Linked DNA regions of Homo sapiens: region 1 is linked to region 2. Evidence: promoter capture Hi-C in 16 types of primary human blood cells and fetal thymus (Javierre and others, 2016). All regions are on one chromosome and are shown on one strand. Each heading gives the region's core, a stretch centred on a gene start or on the middle of the fragment in contact. The rest is flanking DNA. Distances are from core to core; before and after follow the strand shown.

Region 1 (4,979 bases), core at 2,152-4,651, 130 kb before region 2:
GCCAGACAGATGGAAAGAGCTGGAGACTTGGGGACAGGGCGAGCCAGGCCCAGAGGCGGAGGTAGGGGGAGGAGGCGGGGAAGGGACAAGAGCAAATGAGGGCAGCAGGCGCTTGGAACAGAGCTCTGGACACAGAAAATGGAAATGGAGGTTGGGGGTGTGAAGGAATGAAGAGGTCCCAGGCGTGGGGGCCTCTTGGGGGATGCACACACCTCAACACACACGCATACAGCACACGCACAGGCACACAAACGGCGCACGCACGCACACACACACACAGCACACACACAGGCACGCATGCATGCACACACGCACAGGCACACACACAGCACACGCGCACAGGCACGCGCGCACACACACATTCTTGCTTTAGGCTTTACATCCACTCCCATTGGCCTGGCCTGTTTCTCCTCTGTGGGACCAAGGTGTTTCCAGCCCCACAAACGCCCCCTCCCCCAGACCCCAGGAGCCCAAGCCCCAAACCCCCGCCCCCAGTCCCAGCATCCCCCTCCCCACGGCTCTCTCTCACCCTACCGGCCCTTAGGGATTGCTGCAGCTCCGAGGCTCCGAGGGCCGCACTGGGGAGGGGGCCACCAGGGTCTCCTACCTTGAAGGGGGAGAGGTGGGCGTGGCCCACGACCCCGTGGCCAGCCTCGAGGTGGGACAAGTTCCTCTCCGCCACGTGCACCAGCTCGGGGGCGTTTACCTGGTTGGGGAGGTGGGCCGGGCTGTGCTCCAGAGGGGGCGTGTCTTCATCTTGGTAGCGGTATTTCTGGGGATGGGGACGGAGGTGTCACTGGGGCCAGCCCGGTGCCTCAGGCTCCAGGCTGGCCGCCCTGGCCGCCGCCTCTTCCCCCAGCCAGTGCAGTGCGGAAGGCCCTGGGGCCTGACCAGCTCCTCCCCCTCCCTCTCCTCTAGCCCATTGGCTCCCCTCTCTCCACTCTCCCAACAGCCCCCTCTCCCGCCAGGGCCTCAGCACCTCTCATCAATCCCCAGGTCCCAATCCCATCCCCCAACTCCTACTCCTCACATCCTGGGACACTGGCCTTCTGGTGGGCATAGCCCCTCTGGCATCTGTGTCTTCACCCCTTTCCCCACCACCTTCATCTTCGAGTCCCTCCAGCTTCTCAGAGCTCTAGCCCCGACACTCACATCTCCATTCTCTGCCTCCAGTCCCCAACTTCCTTGCTTCTCTCACCATCTCAGACTCACTCTTGTTCTAGCCTCCCCTCCCCTACCCCTCTGGCTGCTCCTACTCTGCATGGCATCCTCCCCGCGCCCCACCTCCATGGCCTCAGTCTCCCCATTGCAGCCTCTACCCCACAGGTGATTGGCTCTCCTTTACCTTGCACTCCTTAGGCAAGGACTGAAGTCACCCCTTCCACCAGAAGGTACTTGGTATCAGCCCCCGAGACAGGACAAGGCTAAGCCTGTCCAGTTCACTGCCCTTGCTGGTTTCCAAGCAGTCAACAGAGGGGCCCCGGGAGTCTGGCCCTACCCCTGCAACAGCCCACAGCCCAGCCAGCTAATCCGGTTATGCTATAAGGGCATGGGCTGGGGGAGGAAGGGGAAGAACAGAGACAGCAGGGCTCAGGACAGGGGCAAGAATGGGTGCCAGCCTCCCTGGTTGGGGAGGAGGGTAGCATGCTGAGCCTCAGAGTGAATTTCTGGTCTCCCTCTGCTCTTTTGGGGTGAAAGGCCCAACATGACCCCTGACTCCCTGCCCAGTTAATCAGCTGCCATCCCAAGGGCCTCCTGTGCTAGCTTAATAGGGACAACAGTAAAATGAGATTAACTGGGGGCCAGAGAAGGAGGAAAAGGGCAGATGGAGACAGCAGAAGAAGACAGCGTTTCTGCCTGGGTCCTTCCGTGTCCGCCTCTGCCCTCGCCTGCTCCTCTCCTCTGGAACGGGCCTCCACAGAGACTGACCCTCCAAGCTCCAGGTTCAGGAAGGGGAAGGTATCATACGCAGGGATCCCTCAGGAACTGAAGAAGACAGAATGCACCGCCCAGTACACATGGGTAAAAAGAGAAGGCACGGCAATCCCAGCACTTTGGGAGGCTGAGGCAGGCAGACAGCTTGAGCCCAGGAGCTGGAGTTGGAGACCAGCCTGGGCAACACAGTGAAACCCTGTCTACAAAAAATACAAAAATTAGCCAGGCATGGTGGTGCACACCTGTAGTCCCAACTGCTAAGGAGGCTGAGGTGGGAGGATTGCTTGAGCCCAAGAGGTGGAGGCTGCAGTGAGCCATGATCACGCCACCGCACTCCAGCCTGGGCAACAGAGTAAGACCCTGTCTCAAAAAGAGAGAGAGGCCAGGAGCAGTGGCTGATGCTTATAATGCCGAGGTGGGTACATCACCTGAGGTCAGAGACCAGCCTGGCCAACATGGTGAAATCCCATCTCTACTAAAAATACAAAAATTAGCTGGGCGTGGTGGCACATGGCTGTAATCCTAGCTACATGGGAGGCTGAGGCAGGAGAATTGCTTGAACCTGGGAAGCGGAGGTTGCAGTGAGCCGAGATCATGCCACTGCACTCTAGCCTGGCGACAGAGTGAGACTCCATCTCCAAAACAAAAAAGAGAGAGGGCGAGCAGAATTTCCCTCCCAAAAGTTTCTGAGAGGCTGAGAGTGCCCTAATACTTAGAGGGCAGCAGCTGCGAGATCAAATGGGAGGAAGCTTATCAAGGTCAATGGCCAATCCTTGAGTAGGATTCTGAAAATGTTAAAGATGATGAATCAAGGCTGAGAATATAACACAACTTTGGCTGTAGAGTAAGGGTACAGTAAGAGAATGGGAGAAGGGAAGTGGTCCTGTCAGCACGAAAACTCTCAAACCCAGAACACAGAGACAACTCAAATCAAGAAGCACCCTGATACATTTAAAGAGTCTTAAAGAAGGAAAACGGGCTCAGCAAGATTGAGTCTATTCTCTGGGCCACAGACTTGGAGAGAATCCTGAACTCCAGATTTCAATCCGATGGGCACAAAAAGTAGAGAAGGAAAATAGGAGAACACACAAAATAGCCCTCCTCCAAGGCTGAGCTGTCTTGAATAAAGGAGTTCTATGAACCAACAGAGACTGTTCATTCCACATCCTGAGAAGGTGGTCTTCTACCTGGGCAGTGCACAAGCTGAGGGGCAAGCCCCAGAATTGAGACCTGGGGGAAGGGGTGGAAGCCGCTCTCCGCTATCCACTCTTCCTTCACAAGGCCTCCAATTCCCTGCAAGGTAAATTAGGACCAAAGCTCCAAGTTTTGGAGTCTGGGGGAGGGTTTGAGTCCAGTGCCTCTCCATCTTCACTCCACCTCAGAGAGAAAATTCCTGAATCTGAGGAGGAAATGTCAGCGTGCACCCAAAGAAAATGGAAACATGAGGAGGGCCATTTCATCATTTATTCTAGGGAGGAAATGAAGGTAAACTTTTATCTCAGCGAGCCCCCAATACCTCTCCCTGCCCCACCCCCATGGAGGGAGGGTGGTGTCTGGCACTGAAGAAAAGGCTCCTCAGGATTGGGAGGCAACATGGAGAAAATGGGGAACAAGAAATGGGTGCCAGGGTTTCCAGAATGTGGCTGGAAGAGGTTAGGGACTAGGTTCAGTCTCTGGAAATTTTCGACGTACATGTAGGGGGGCGGGGAGAAACGTCGGGAGGGGTGGGGGTGGGGGCGGGGGAGAGTAATTCTGAAACTGCAGACTGGGGGGCTGGGGCGGTGGGGGATCAGCACCTCTCAGTCTTGGATTACAGGGCAACTAAAGCAGGACGGGAAAGGAGGACCCCCCCCATCCTTTATCCTACTGGGACTCAGGGCCCTAACCCAGACAACTCAGATGCTACTGGGACATATCTGCACCCCCAATATATTAGGGCTTAAAACAAGTAAAAGGCCTGGGGAATGGGGGACACGGACGGAGTCGCTGTTGTTCCTTCCCCTTTGGCCCCCTCCTCACCAGAGCCCCAGTTGCACAGAATGACCTGGAACTGAGGCTTGCACCCCCAAAACATAGGGGTGTGAGTCAAAGTGAATGATAAGAGGGGCGACCCACGGCGCCTGTCCACGAGAAGTTGCAACCCAGAGACCCCGCACCAAGCAGAAGGAAGAGCGACAGCGCTTGAAGCTTGCACCCTGATATTTGCGGGGGTCCGGGAAGGGGGAGCGGGCCGGAGCCCATACCGCGGCACGTACCACGCAGAGACACATGGAGGCGAATCTGTTCCGAGCCGACATGGAGAAGGGGAGGGGGACTGAGGGAAGGGGGTAGGTGGGATATCAAGGGTCCCGGGGGTTGGGGGAGGGGGAGGGGCAGAGGGGCGGGGGCTGCGGCGGCCGCGGCAACTGGAGGCTGCGGCGGGGGGGGGGGGGGGGTGACGGCGCCTGCGCAGTAAGGAAGAGCGTCACGTTGGGAGAGAGGGGTGAGGGGAGACCCTCTTAGCCACCAACTTCCCTGGTTCACGCTGTTTCTCTGTGAACTTCACTTTCCACAGTATACTTCTATTCCGACCCCTCTACAATTAAAGACAGACTTAAATTTACCAGTTTATCTCTCTAGTTCTCAGGGACCCCTTATTCCATCCCATCTAATCCCCCAACCCCAACATCGCGAGACCCCAAACCATTCCAAAACCTCACTGGACATCTCGTCACTACTGGCCTCCCAGAGTCCAGGGAAACAAACAGCACTTCTCTCACAAGAACCCCCAAGGGATCTACACTGCCTCTCCCACCAAACCCCCGCAAGATTGGTGCTGTGGATAGCATCTCCTCAGATTCCAAGGCATCTCCTACTCTAACCAGCATAGTTCTCCCCTGCAGTCCAGCCCCACCTGATAGGCAGCCCATGTTTCTTCAAGAGTTTAAGGAACCACAGAGCCTTGTTGGCCCCCCAAATTAATATATGCTAAATCATCCCTTTCTATATCACATCTATCTCCCAATCCACTAACAGGGATGTTGCAATTAGTGCAAATATTACTC
Region 2 (4,970 bases), core at 2,461-4,960:
CGTGATCACAGGACAGGGGGCCCTTCCCTTTTAGGTAGCCGAAGTAGAGAGAGAAGGCAGCATACGTCAGCGTTTTCTTCTATGCACTGATAAGAAAGATCAAAGACATTAAGACTTTCACTATTTCTTCTACTGCTCTCTACTACGAATTTCAAAGAGGAACCAGGAGTACGGGAGGAACATGAAAGTGGACAAGGAGCGTGAGCATTGAAGCACAGCACCACAGGGAGGGGTTTAGGCCTCCGGATGACTGCGGGGAGGCCTGGATAATATCCAGCCTTCCACAAGAAGCTGGTGGAGCAGAGTGTTCCCTGACTCCTCCAAGGAAAGGAGACTCCCTTTCGCGATCTGCTAAGTAACGGGTGTCTTCCCAGGCACTAGCGTTACCGCTTGACCAAGGAGCCCTCAAGCGGCCCTTATGCGAGCGTGACAGAAGGTTCACCTCTTGCCTTCTAGGTCACTTCTCACAATGTCCCTTCAGCACCTGACCCTATACCCGCCGGTTATTCCTAGGTTATATTAGTAATGCAACAAACAGTAATATTAAAAGCTAATGATTAATAATGTCTATAATAATGATTGATAATTGTCCATGATCATCTCTATATCTAATTTGTATTATGACTATTCTTATTCTAACTATTTCTTTATTATACTGAAACAGTTTGTGCCTTCAGTCTCTTACCTTGGCACCTAGGTAATCTTTCGCCCACAACATGAGATGAGGGTTGTGGATTGAATGGAAAGGGGGAGGTGGAGCGAGCCTTTGGCAAGAGTGCGGTGGGAAAGCCAAGCTCTCACCATGGTCACAGACTCCACCGACTTTGACAAGCGCCGCAAGGCACACTATGACAAAGGGAAGTTTCTCAAGGCTCAGAAAAACCAGCCCTTGGAGAATGAAGAGGATGAGGATGACAATGGTGGTATTATCAGTATCAGCGGTGGCAGTCAAGGCGTGATGCTGGACCCAGAGCCCAGGCCTGTGCAGAGAGGCTTGGCAGGAGAACTAGCCAGAGGAGCCAAAGATGAGCCAGGCCTGGTCACCTGGAGGCACATCCTTGAAGCCGAGGGTTAGCGATGGCGGGGCTCCAGGGACTAGAGGGGGTTGTATTCCAGAGCCCGTTCCTCACTTCTCTACCACAGTCTGTCTTCCTCAGTGGCTATCAGCCCAAGACTCTGCTGCCTGACAGGGAGGTAATGCTGGGAAGTAACCCCAGGGAAGAAAGAGGGCAGCTGGAGGAAGGACCCCACTCAGGATAGTCCCCGGAGATTATTGGCTGTTGAGGAACAGAAAGTCTGATTGGGGGCTGATTTGTTGGCCAGGCCCAGTGGCTCACTTCTGTAATCCCAGCACTTTGGGAGGATTGCTTGAGGCCAGAAGTTCAAAACCAGCCTGGGCAACGTAGGGAGACCTCATCTCTACAAAAAAAGAAAAAGAAAAAAATTGTTTTTAATTAGCCAGGTGTGGTGGCGTGCACCTGTAGTCCAGGCTACTGGGGAGGCTAAGGTGGGAGGATAGCTTGAGCCCAGGAGTTTGAGGCTGCCGTGAGCGATGATGGCACTAACACATTCCAGCCTGGGTAACATAGCAAGATCTTGTCTCAAAAAATAAATAAAAAAATAAACAAAAGTCCGAGACAACCATGGGGGGAGGTGGAGCGGTCACTGAAGTTTTTCTAAAATGGGAAGGGTAAGAGAAGTCAGTGAGATGAGGATCTGGGGCCTGAGCTTCTCCCCTCTGGTGAGGGCCCACAACAGACACCTGGGAGGCATGGATACACCAGATGGCTAGAAGACTTGGATTCATTTGATTGATTCCTCAGATTCCTCCACCTACAGAAATCAGTCCCCCCAGCTGTGGCCACTATCATATTGGGGCAGGAGATTGCTCTGCAGCACAAGGAATATGATGGCAAAGGACTATACCTGAGGTCCTGCTCCCACCCAGAGCTTGTAGAGGACGTGGAAGATGAGCATCAGGATGGTGAGAACCTGGGCAGGCCAGCCTAGGGGGCAGGAGGGCTGGGAATGCACAGCCTGATGGGTACCCGAGCCCTGATCCCTGATTCTAGGCTCCACAAGCTTGACCTAGGTGATTGAGAACCCCGTAAGCACTGAAGTCCACCTACTGGACCACATGGGAGGCCCCTTTAGGGATCACAAGGCCACGGAGAGCTCCCTGATGGCAACAATGACAACATTGCAGCCTGTTGAGGGCACCAGGCCACCATCTCCCTGGGGCTGTCTCTTGGCAAGCTCCCATCTCCCAGCCCTCCAATTCTTTCAGGCCAGTACATCAGCAACAGGTGGAAGGAGAGGCCCTGAACAGCCTCAAGTCCAAGGTCCACATTGGACAGGCGAGGAACCAGGGAGACTCAGAGGCGGTTGGGACCCCCTCCAGCTTGGCACCACACACTGGCTCCATGCCTCCTCCTTCACTCCTCTGCCACACCACCCCACTCCAGGTATTTCTCTGTCCTCCAAAGACAGTGAGTCTCAAGTGGTGTCCAGCTGGTGGCTGGGGGGCTGAGCTGGCAAAGCCCAAGGAGTTCAGAGAGGGAGAGTGGAAGCAACCCCAACTCCTCAAGCCAGAACAAGCACAGCCTGGCACACTGAGCCTGGGCAGAGGCAAGGGGATGCATACACTGGCCAGGGAGGTAGAGGAGCTGAGTGGGGAGGTTCTAGGGGATCCAGAGTCACATGGACAAGATCTCATGCCTGCTACGAGAAAGCCATGAACTCAAACTCTTCTCTCCAGATGAAACCCTGGGACTTCAATGGACTCAAGAAAAGGAAAGCAAACAATGGAAAATGGGGCTGGTTGGGGGCGGAGTGGGGGCAACCTTCCCTTCATGACCACCCTATGAATAGAAATAAAGAGCAGAAGAGCAAGAGTCTGGGAGCTGTGAATCGGGTGCTCAGGCTGGGCCTGCTCAGTCGTTGAGGAGAGGGGAGGAGGAAGGGGAGTTCACACACAGGAACCATGAATATGACGGCAAAACGAAGAAAGCTGGGAGCAGTCCGGGGTACTGGACTCCACAGGAGCAGGCCCAAGCTGTAGCAGGATGACAATGACTGATGCAATTAATATAGTGAACCAGCTGGGCACAGTGGCTCACGCCTGTAATCCTAGCACTTTGGGAGGCCGAGGTGGGTGGATCACCTGAGGTCAGGAGGTCGAGACAAGTCTGACCAACAAGGTGAAACCCCGTCCCTACTGAAAATACAAAAAGTTAGCCGGGCATGATGGCAGGAGCCTGTAGTCCCAGCTACTCGGGAGGCTGAGACAGGAGAATTGCTTGAACCCAGGAGGCGGAGGTTGTAGTGAGCCGACATCGCGCCACTGCACTGCAGCCTGGGCGATGGAGGGAGACTCCGTCTCATAAATAAATAAATTTAGTGAACCATGAATTTACTGCTATCACCTTCTTCACTTCGTACAGCCCTGGAGGAAGGGGTTATCATTCCCATCTTCCAGATGAGAAAACTGAGGAATCAGAGAGCTCGTCCAGGGGCACATAACCTCTAAGTGACAGAGCCAGGATTTGAACCTAGATCTGCCAGGCCCCCAAGATAACCACGAAGAGAGAAAGAAACAGAGGCTAGAGCCCCAGGAGGAAGGAGCTGGCAGATCGTCTCTGAGGGTGGGGCTGTGGCTTCTCTGATCTCAGGCCCCCATCCTCCGCCCAGGCCCCGCCCCTGCCCCTCCCAGCACTGCCTGGAAGTGTGGGGTGAGAGCTCCTCCTAGGACACCCCTTTCCCCTTGGGGAAAGAATTGTGCCCCCAGGCCCTTCCCCGCGGAGGTCCCTCTCCTCCTTCCCCCTCATCTCCCCTTCCTGGGACAGAAAGTGCCTCCACCTGCATCCCCAGGGGCCCGGCCTCCAGGGCCCGCTGGCCCCACAGCAGGCAAGCTGAGATGACGGTCAAGCTGGATTTCGAGGAGTGTCTCAAGGACTCACCCCGTTTCCGGTAAGTGTGAACTGGTCTGGGGGGCTAAGGAGGGGAAAGTCTAACACCCCCAGCACACACACACCTTTCCCCAGGCCAGGTCTCCTTCCAGGGAGCAGGCCTCTAAGAGGCAGGAGCGAGCCTGTGGGCCAAAGTGGTACCCCAGCTGTGAAAGCAGGGTACTCCAATGCTCTCTGCCCCTGCATGCTCCTCCTGGCCTCTGCAGTTTCCCTCACCCCTAGAGCTGGCATTCCCTCTGGCCTCTCAGTGGGACCCCTGCCCCTCCCCCAGCACCTGCTCTGGGGCGGTTAGCAACTTCCTGCCCTGGCCACATCCACCCTCCTTCTACCCTTCCTGCTCTGGCCTGGGCTGTGGTAGCTCCCAGACTGCAGAGCGGGCAGAGCACAAGTAGGTGGGTGGGGGGCGAGCCTCTCAACTCTGCAGCTTTCTCCTCCGTACCCACCGCCCTGCGACTCCATCCCGCCTGATGAGGCAGACAGACCAGATGGACCCAAGCTCTCTTCCCATGACCCCCTCTTTCCCAGAGCCTCTATTGAGCTGGTGGAAGCCGAAGTGTCAGAATTGGAGACCCGTCTGGAAAAGGTGACCCTGACATGGAGAGGTGACCCAGGAGTGGATTAGGTTGAGAGGGGTAGGGCCAGGGAGAAAGCTGGAGACACAGAATGCATCCCAGGGATTATTGAATACTGTGTAGGGGAGATATTTTGGAGACTGCAGAGAAGCAAAAAAGGTGGTTCTGTACCGACAAGAAGCTCAGGATCTTGGAAAACAAGACTTACTTTTGGGCCAGGCATGGTAGCTCATGCCTGTAATCCCAGCACTTTGGGAGGCCAAGGTGAATGGATCACCTGAGGTCAGGAGTTCTAGACCAGCCTGGCTAACATGGCGAAACCCCATCTCTACTAAAAATGCAAAAATCATCCAGGCTTAGTGGCACCCATCTGTAGCTCCAGCTACTCAAGAGGCTGAGGCAGAGGAATCACTTGAACCTGGGAGGCGGA

The links. Contacts are between HindIII fragments. The CHiCAGO score rates a contact against its expected background, and 5 or more counts as called.
Region 1: a fragment that was not itself captured here is called in contact with the fragment with the promoter of ACAP1 in region 2 in 8 of 17 cell types (naive CD4 T cells, total B cells, naive B cells and 5 more); the score reaches 7.1 in naive CD4 T cells.

The regions. Positions count from the first base shown.
Region 1 is chr17:7,207,468-7,212,446 of GRCh38, forward strand. It overlaps DLG4 (discs large MAGUK scaffold protein 4), which reads right to left. Exons shown (of 20, transcript NM_001321075.3): 2 at 707-772. Among named protein-coding and RNA genes, the nearest start is that of DLG4, 7.7 kb to the right of the region's middle. RefSeq lists enhancers at 3,562-4,076, 4,077-4,591. The HindIII fragment of the contact is 1,438 bases long and covers 2,683-4,120 here.
Region 2 is chr17:7,332,819-7,337,788 of GRCh38, forward strand. ACAP1 (ArfGAP with coiled-coil, ankyrin repeat and PH domains 1) reads left to right here and starts at 3,711. Exons shown (of 22, transcript NM_014716.4): 1 at 3,711-3,969; 2 at 4,494-4,551. The coding sequence starts at 3,917. RefSeq lists enhancers at 3,154-3,915, 3,916-4,677 and a silencer at 3,573-3,782. The HindIII fragment of the contact is 9,667 bases long and covers 2,081-4,970 here.